Regions from separate parts of the Homo sapiens genome. Here region 2 is linked to region 1. Evidence: promoter capture Hi-C in human tissues and cell types (Jung and others, 2019). All regions are on one chromosome and are shown on one strand. The core of a region is centred on a gene start or on the middle of the fragment in contact, and the rest is flanking DNA. Distances in the headings are between cores, read along the strand shown. Region 1 holds the start of PMP22 (peripheral myelin protein 22). Region 2 has its middle 34 kb from the start of TEKT3.

Region 1 (4,186 bases), core at 629-3,128:
CAGCCAACAGGGACTTCGGGGTTTGGCTGCTGGAGATGGAGGACCTGGGCAAAAGAGACGTGAGGCCAAGAGAGCAGGTCTCAGAATGTGGAGCTCATGGAAGGAGAGAGGGAGGGCTAATCAGACTGCTCCTATCTGGCCAGAAGCCATGCCCCACACTCACCAGGCCCTACCCCTTTTCCTCTGAATCTTTAGCTCTTAGATCAGAAATAATCTTACGTGTCTTCAGGCTTGATCCTGGCCTGACGGACAGCAGCCTCTGTCGTGTAGCCTTTGGAGCTGATCATGGCAGTACCCAGGAAAAGACTGTCTGGAGAGGCTGCAAAAACCATGCTCACTGTTCCCAGTCCCCGTACAGACCATGTCAGAGGAGGACTGAGGGAGGCTCCTCTCTCTCTCTCTCTGTCACACACACGCACACGCGCACACACACACACACAGATACACGCGCACACACACACACCGTTTTGCCTGGCAGAACAGACTTATAACTTGCATAATACTGCAGCAGCCCACACTGTACCTCATCTCCATTTGGGTTCCACAACAGAAGGGAGCTGGAAGGAAATCAGCGACAATCTAACTCCACATGACAACCTGGCTGGACAACGAAACATCCAGCGGGGAGAAAGACACTGGAAATTACCCATACCTGAGCCCCATCCCAAAACACCTGAGTCAGCTTCTCTGACCATGGCCCAGGCTAGGTCATTTGCAAAGCTCTTGAGTGATTCTAAAGAACCACTGCTGTGAAAAATAAAAATGATTTCAGCAAAGAGAGAAAGGTGAAACTATTTTATTGGCACTGGCTGTGATGCTGGCTGTGAGCAGATGCTGGCTGTGGGCAGAACAGGGGAGAGGGCCATTGAGAGGCCCTTGTGACTGGAGAGTCCAATCAAACGTAAAGTGTGTGACAGGGAGGGACTCCTCCAAATTCTGCAGGTCTCTCCAGACTGGGGATCCCTAACACAAGAGGAAGTCTTATGCCCCAAGTGCCAGAATTCCAGGAAACTCATGCAATGAAACCAGTCCTCTTGTGTCAGAGTTTGCAGCTAGAAGCGGTTCAAGGGATGGAGGACTCTCTGGGAGCTGGAGTGGTACGCTGCAAAGAACCTAAATATGCCATAACTTCCTTTACTTCCCTCTCCAAGAATTTCCAATTGCTCTTCCAGCCTATTCTGCCTGACAGGTTAGAAAGTTTTCAATAGTTTTCAATAGAGGTTCGTTTACTTGCATTGAATTATCTCATGAAGGTCAGCTTGATTCGGGCACATTAAAGACAGAGTCGGAAGAACACATTTCCCTAAGTTTTATTCTAATGTACAACACATGTGATCATTTGCGATGGGGTCTAGGCAGACAAGGCAGGTAACAGGGAGTCCTTCCAACCAGGGGTTGGAACAAAGGAGGCTTGATTTGGTGACTCTTGAGACATTTGGCTCACTGCTGTGATGCTGTGAGAGATTAGCTGTGCAATGTTTGGGCTCCTTAAAAGGAAGTTTATTTAAAATAAAACTTACCTGCACGTATGTAACACTGTAGACACAGATCCTTCCCACAGTATATTTAATCTCTGCAGAATTCACTGGGAGGGGAGGGGAGCCAGTGGGACCTCTTGGCTATTACACAGGTTGGCACTTCCAGAGAGAACAGTCTTGGCATCACAGGCTTCAGGCATACTCAAAGCTCTTCTCCCTTCTGATTCCAGTTTCTCCATGCCCTGCAGGGCCTCTTGGGATTATTGTATTCTGGAAAGCAAACAAAGTTGGACACTGTCTCTTTAAATAATAGAGGCTGAGAACCTCTCAGGCCACCATGACATATCCCAGCATTGGACCAGCCCCTGAATAAACTGGAAAGACGCCTGGTCTGGCTTCAGTTACAGGGAGCACCACCAGGGAACATCTCGGGGAGCCTGGTTGGAAGCTGCAGGCTTAGTCTGTCGGCTGCGGGTCTCTGACTGCCCTGTGGGGAGGGTCTTGCCTTAACATCCCTTGCATTTGGCTGCAAAGAAATCTGCTTGGAAGAAGGGGTTACGCTGTTTGGCCGGGTGAGTTTTATTGGCAAACTGTGCCTCTGGGTGATGTGTGCCTATGCTTTACAAGAATTGCCTAATTTCCCACCCCCTGCAAGCCGCAAATGAAAAGGATTGCAGGAGAGATGGTGCATTTGTGTTGGAATTGACTGGAGATTCAGAGGGCTTTTTATATCCTTGGTTAAAAGGTGGATATATACTCTGGCTGGGGAGGTGGGGGGCCATCTGAGAGCATCTAGAAACCCTAATGCATCCAGATTGAAAGGAAGAAAGGAATCTAGATGCTTTTTCCCCCATGGAAAATAGCTGTGCACACACAGCTGGCAGGTGGCCTTGGTAAGCAGGTTAGGGAGAAGCTGCCACCTGTGGCAGAGCCTTGGCCAGCCGGGCTCTGGGTGTGGCAAGCCTGGTCAGCAGGCACTGAGTAGCACTTCCTCTGCCACCATTGAGAACCAGGCAGGAGGCCAGAGGCAGTGAGGGACAGATGGGTTGGGTTTACCTGTCTGGCAGTATATGGTGTGGCTGTGACCTGGGTGGTTATTGATTAAACTATTGGGTTCAAAAGAAAGGAAGAAGCGAGCTGTAGCACCCAATATATGCACTTTTCTGTATGTGTATTAGACTTTATTAAAAAGTTTATTTGAAAATCACAAAGGAAGGGAAAGAAAACCCTGAGTTAGATATGCTCATATTTCTAAAGTGCTTACTTAGAACAGTCCTGAGTATGTTGTGATCACATAAGTGTTGGTTAAATAAATAAATGTCCAAATGGCATAAAACAAAGTAATAATTTCTAGAGCAAATCTAACTTATAAAATGACCTGTGGAGGAAAGAAAACACTGCCATGTCTTTAGACTTTTTTTTCTACTTGCATATGCACTTTCATTTATAAATCTTTATCTATCTATCTATATCTATCTATCTATCTATCTATCTACCTACCTACCTACCTACCTATCAGAGTTACAAGCTACTTTAGTGCAGAGGTGGTCAGGTCTTCCCTGAAAGGTTGATGTGAGAGTTAAATGTGATATAATAATAGTGGTGGCAATTTGGGCACTGGGCCCTTATTATGTTGCAGACACGATGTTAACTGCTTTGTACATATTGTCTCCTTCAATCACCACCATAAACCTTTAAAGCAGGCATTACTATTTCCTTTTGCACCTGAGAAAACTGAAGCTCAGTGAACTTGAGAAATTGCCCAAATTCACAACAAAAGTAAGCAGGGTGATTAGGTTTGTTGGAGCCCAGAGCCAGAGTGCCTAACCACTGCACCATACTGCCTCTCACAGACCATGCATATAAAGTCCAGGCAAAGTGCTTGGCATATAACGGGCACTGTAAATGCAGTGTTTACAAGTACACTTCATTTTAATCTGATAACACGATAGTTTTAAAAAGATCATTGTTTGAAGATCTTTTTCAAATTTATTTTTACTTACCGTAAGAATATACAATTAGCTAAAATAGCAGCTCCTTTCAAATCGTAAAATAATATAGAATTATTTGAATCATTGAGAGTGATGAGCTTCTATGACACAGTACACTAGAGGTAGGGAAGTGTGTGTGTGTGTGTGTGTGCGCGCGCGTGCGTGAACTGCTGCATTTTCAGGCAGAAACCTTTAACATCCACATTCCTGCTCCCTGTCCCGTGCCTCAAGGCTGGCCTGCGCACGGGAGTCTCAGTTGGGCGCGCCTCTGCCAAGCCGAGACTGAAGGGGGCTAGCCTCTCTCCCTGTAACGCTGGGCGGGCCACGTTAGGAGGCTATGAATCAGCTGATTTCCTTGGCTGCTCCAACCCCACCTCAAATGGCCACCTCGCACCCGCCCGCCAAACCCCATGGCCAGGACTCCAGCCAAGGCTGACAGCCAAGCCCGACTGCTGCAGGAACACTTTGCCTAGAGCTTATTCGGTGGTAGTCTGGTTTTGCCTAGGCTAGGAGGAGCCCAATCCCAGACCATGCTATCCAGTAGTCGGCCGGACTTTTCTTCCCCTAATTCGCACCCAAGAGGAGCCCGCTAGATCAATCCCCGCCAATCCTAGGAAGCTGGCATGCTTCGTAGGTGCAGACAGTAATAGCGGGGACCGGCGCGGGGCAGGTGTGTCCGGCTAAGACGCCAGGACAGGGCAGGGGCTCCAGGACCCG
Region 2 (4,710 bases), core at 1,039-3,538, 110 kb before region 1:
CCATTTTGTGGCTACTCCCTCTGCCCCCTGCTCAGAACTGGCTCTCCTGGAATGCAGTATTTGCAGCTGAACAAAAGGATGCCTTATGTCTCTCTGTACTCCATGGCTGTGCATTGATTCTTTATGGCACTGGTATCAAAACTGCCAGTGTTTCCTCTCACGGCGCCAGAACACGTTGGTCTCCTTGGAGTCCCAGGAAAGTGCTTGAGAAGCTGCAGTATGCAAGAAATGACAGGCTTCATTTATCCAGCAGCTCATGGAGAAAAGCACCTTCCACGCGTTATAAGGATCCTTTTTGTCTGTTTGGGCCCTTGTAGTTGTGAATGACTCAAGTGTGGAGAACTATTCAGCACTATTCATAAGTATGAGTTCTACCAGCTTGCTGTGGAGCTCAGAAGCAACCTGGCCTGACTCAGAGAGCTTTCAAGAAGTCATTATGAAGACTAACGAAGGGCACCACAAGGGGGTGGACTGAACACCCAGATAAAAATGACTTGAAATATTAAGTTCGTGACAGCACCAAGAAATAAGATGAGTACCATATTAGTCAGTTCTCCAAGGTGGGGGCAAACCAGAAGAGCAGAAGATGTAAACCAGAGGGCATCCCAGAAAAAGGCTGCTATGCAGATGTGGTGGGGCAAGGAAGCCCCAGACCCAGAGTCTAGGTAGAAACAAGGGCACAGGCGGGGTCCTGGGGCTTTCTTCAGGGCAATTAGTTGGAAGGCCAGGCAGGCAAGGCAGCCCCTTCCCTCAATCTCAACTTCTGCTATGCAGCAAGAAGCCATGACTGCAGATAGTGTGGTGGGCAACTGGGGCTCAGAAAGAAGGAGGTACCCTGGAGCCTACTACTGCAGCTAAAGAGGGATAGAGACCTGTCCACACACATTAAACGCCTCCGCACATTCACCAAGAACAAGAGACACAGACGATAAACTGTGTCCACAGACAGGCAAGGAGGAAATTCTCAATACAAAGAGAAGAGCAAAAATCATCAGACACTCCAGAAAAACAAACACATGAAACAAAACCACTAAGCTGGCTCGGCGCGGTGGCTCACACCTGTAATACCAGCACTTTGGGAGGCCGAGGTGGGCACATCACCTGAGGTCAGCCGTTCGAGACCAGGCTGACCAACATGGAGAAACCCCGTCTCTACTAAAAATACAAAATTAGCTGGGCATGGTGATGCATGCCTGTAATCCCAGCTACTCAGGAGGCTGAGGAAGGAGAATCACTTGAATCCAGGAGGCGGAGGTTGCGGTGAGCCGAGATCGCACCATTGAACTCCAGCCTGGGCAACAAGAGCGAAACTCCATCTCGAAAAACAAAAACAAACAAAAAAAAAACACAAAACACTAAGCTTAATAAGGCAGAGAAGGAAATTATCTTCTAAGGAAATAGTGAAAATGACCAAATACTTTAAAGATTATTAACATCTTATGATAGGTTACTTGGGGGGAATCGCCACAAAATAAGAATAGTTGGTATAAAACAAGAATCAAGTAGAAACTTTACAAATTTAAAATAAGTGACTTTTAAAAAACTTCAGCATAGTGAGCAAATAACCAAATGTGAAAACTAAATCAGTGGGCTAAACGTCCAAGCCAAGAAAGTCTTCCTAATTTTTTCTTAAATTTAAAATTAAACAAGTTTAATTTGTTGTAAAATACATTACCATCTTAATTATTTTTAAGTGTACAGTTCAGGGGCATTAAGTACATTCATATTGTTGTGTGACCATCACCACCATCCATCCAGAGAACTCTTCCTATCTTGCAAATCCCAGACTCTGTACCCGTTAAAAAACCTCCCACCGCAACTCAACCCAGCCTCTGGCAACCACCATTCTACTTTCTATCTCTATGAATTTAACTATTCTAGGTCTCTTATGTAAGTGGAATCATTCAGCATTTGTCCTTTTGTGGCTGGCTTATTTCACTCTGCATTATGCTCTCAAGGTTCAGCCATATTGTAGCATGTGTCAGAATTTCCTTTCTTTCTAAGGCTGAATAATATTGCCTTGTCTGAAATACCACACCTTGTTTATCCATTCGTCTGTCAGTGGATACTTGGGTTGTTTCTACCTTGTGACTATTGATGCCATTCCCTGATTTTTATGCTATAGAACAAACCATTGAAAGAATAAAATAAAAAGTAAGATATGTATAGATTCAGGAGCTCCAAATACCAAAATTTGAGATGGTCTGGGGAGAGGTAGAAAACTTAAATAAAACAATAACCACAGAAAAATTGAAAAGGCAGTCAAAAATCTAACCCTTAAAAAGATAGAAGGCCTGGATCCTTTTCTGGACACATTCTACCAGAGACTATGTGATATTAACTCTCCCAGAGCATAGAAAAAATGCAAACGTTCTCAATTCATACCACAGGCATAACTTTGAAACTGGACAAGAGCAGAAGGAAAAGAAAACACCTGTTAAAACATGGCAGATCAAATATCTATGTGTATCATTTTTTCTTTTCCCCACTCTCCACCCAAGACCACTCTAACGTAACGTTATAGAAACACAAAAGGTTCTGAGTCCTCCCAGGAGGGCTCAGAAGACAAGACAGGAGCCACCAGTGTGTGAGAGATTTAAACCAATTTCTGGAATATGGAAAACAGGTGGGAGAGAAGAACTGACTTAGCAAAGAGGCAAAAACTGCATTCTAAAATTAGTTGAGTAGGGGATACTGGAAGAAAACAGGTGACTTCATTCATAGAGTCCATAAAACTCTTTGGAGAGTCTGGTCTTGAAAGCATCAGGTCCCACAGAAAGTGGGAGGCAAGCTGGGGGCTGCAAAAAGGCTACAGGAGCACAGACTTCATCCAGAGTTGGGGGTCTCCAGATTGATCTAGCCTGACCTCTGCTCCATGTATAAAGTTGCAGGTTTATATTACAGACAGATTAGATAGAAGGAGTTCTGGTCTTGAACATTTTAGGCACAATGAGGTGGTGTGGTACAGGGATGAAAATGGGTATGAAATGAAGCTCTGCATCCTTCTGCTCTCTTCCCTGGCTCTGCTCACAGTATGCCCCCAGCCACACACAAGGACGTGATTTGGAAAATTCTGACCCAGAGAAAATAGCTCCATTCATTGAAACCTGGAGGTGCCCAAGTGTGGCAGCTGCTGCTTGACAAGTCTTGGCTGTGTACTTTGAGCCTGCAGTCATCTTCTTAGTGCCCCTAAGACTCTGAAACATACATGGGCAGTCAACTTTCATCAGACATTTGGGGGAAGGGTCCAAAACAAACATAAGAAACCAGGTAAGAAATTATGCAGGGCAGACGAGAAACCTTCAAAAATACTGTAGCACTGATGTCTCCAAAGAGGTGAGAGGTGACATTGCATTCATACAATAAGAACCTCATTCTCAGAAAAAAAAAATCAGACAACAATAAAAGCTCTTGGAAATTTGAAGTAGCACAGCAGAATAAACATTAGAGGAAGACTGGGAAATACAATTGAGAAAATCTTCCAAAATGTAAAGATGTCATGCAAAGATATGGAAAATCGTAGAGAAACAATAAGAACATTTATATATGTATATGTATGTGTGTGTGTGTGTGTGTGTATATATATGTTTTCTTTTTTTTTTTTTTTTTGAAATAGAGTCTCACTCTGTCTCCCAGGCTGGAGTGCAGTGATGCAATCTCGGCTCACTGCAACCTCCGCCTCCCGGGTTCAAGTGATTCTCCTGCCTCAGCCTCCAAGTAGCTGAGATTACAGACATGCACCACCACACCTGGCTAATTTTTGTAATTTTAGTAGAGATGGGTTGTCACCATGTTGGCCAGGCTGGTCTTGAACTCCTGACCTCAGGTGATCCACCCTCCTCAGCCTCCCAAAGTGTTGGGATTACAGGCGTGAGCCACTGTGCCTGGCCTAAAGGATCTATTTAAAAAAAACAAAATTCATCTAATAGGAGATCCAGAGGAAATGAAGAGGAGGAAATTATCTGAGACATGGTACAAGAAGACTTTCTAGAACTGAAGGACATGACAGTCCAGGTAATAAGAGATAAGCAAGGATCAAAAACTATTACAAGTAAAACAAACAAAATGAACAAATAAAAACAACAACAACAAGCTCATGACAAGTCTATCTTTTATGAAATTTCAGAACAATAGGAATTAAGAAAAGACACTGAAAGATGAAAGAGGGAAACCGGGTCTCATAAAGAAAGAATTAGGAATCAGTGTGGTTTCACACAACCTTGGAAGGCAGAAGGAAAAATATTTTCAAACTAGAATTTAATAATGAGACAAATAGCTAATCAAGTGTATAAGTGAAGAATAATGACATTTTTAGATATACAATTATTTGCCACATAAACACATTCCAGTCAACAATGAACCTGCATATAACAGAGGTCCCATAGGATTATAATCGAGGTGAAAAGTTCGTATTACCTAATGGCATCATAGTCTTTGTAATGTCATAGCACAACATATTACTCATGCAAACCTATGATAAAAAAGTAAACCAGGCAAATCACTATGAACATATTTATGAAAAGAGTGACACTTCCTCCAAAAGAGCTTCAGGCAGGTCCTGCAGGAAGTGTTCCAGAAGAAGACATTGTTATCATAGGAGATGACAGCTCCCTGTGTGTTAGTGCCCCTGAGGACCTTCTAGTGGGATAAGACATGGATATGGAGAACAATGATATTGATGATCCTGACCCTGTGTAGGCCTAGGCTAAT

What was found. Contacts are between HindIII fragments. The study calls those that stand out against the background at their distance.
Region 2: a fragment that was not itself captured here is called in contact with the fragment with the promoter of PMP22 in region 1 in 3 of the 25 tissues and cell types used here (IMR-90 fibroblasts, hippocampus and liver).

Annotation. Positions count from the first base shown.
Region 1 is chr17:15,263,018-15,267,203 of GRCh38, reverse strand. It overlaps PMP22 (peripheral myelin protein 22), which reads left to right and starts at 1,878. Exons shown (of 5, transcript NM_000304.4): 1 at 1,878-2,050. It overlaps LOC124903931 (a long non-coding RNA gene), which reads right to left. Exons shown (of 2, transcript XR_007065632.1): 2 at 1,295-1,748. The HindIII fragment of the contact is 30,387 bases long and covers 1-4,186 here.
Region 2 is chr17:15,373,134-15,377,843 of GRCh38, reverse strand. No RefSeq gene overlaps it. Among named protein-coding and RNA genes, the nearest start is that of TEKT3, 34 kb to the right of the region's middle. The HindIII fragment of the contact is 5,946 bases long and covers 1-4,710 here.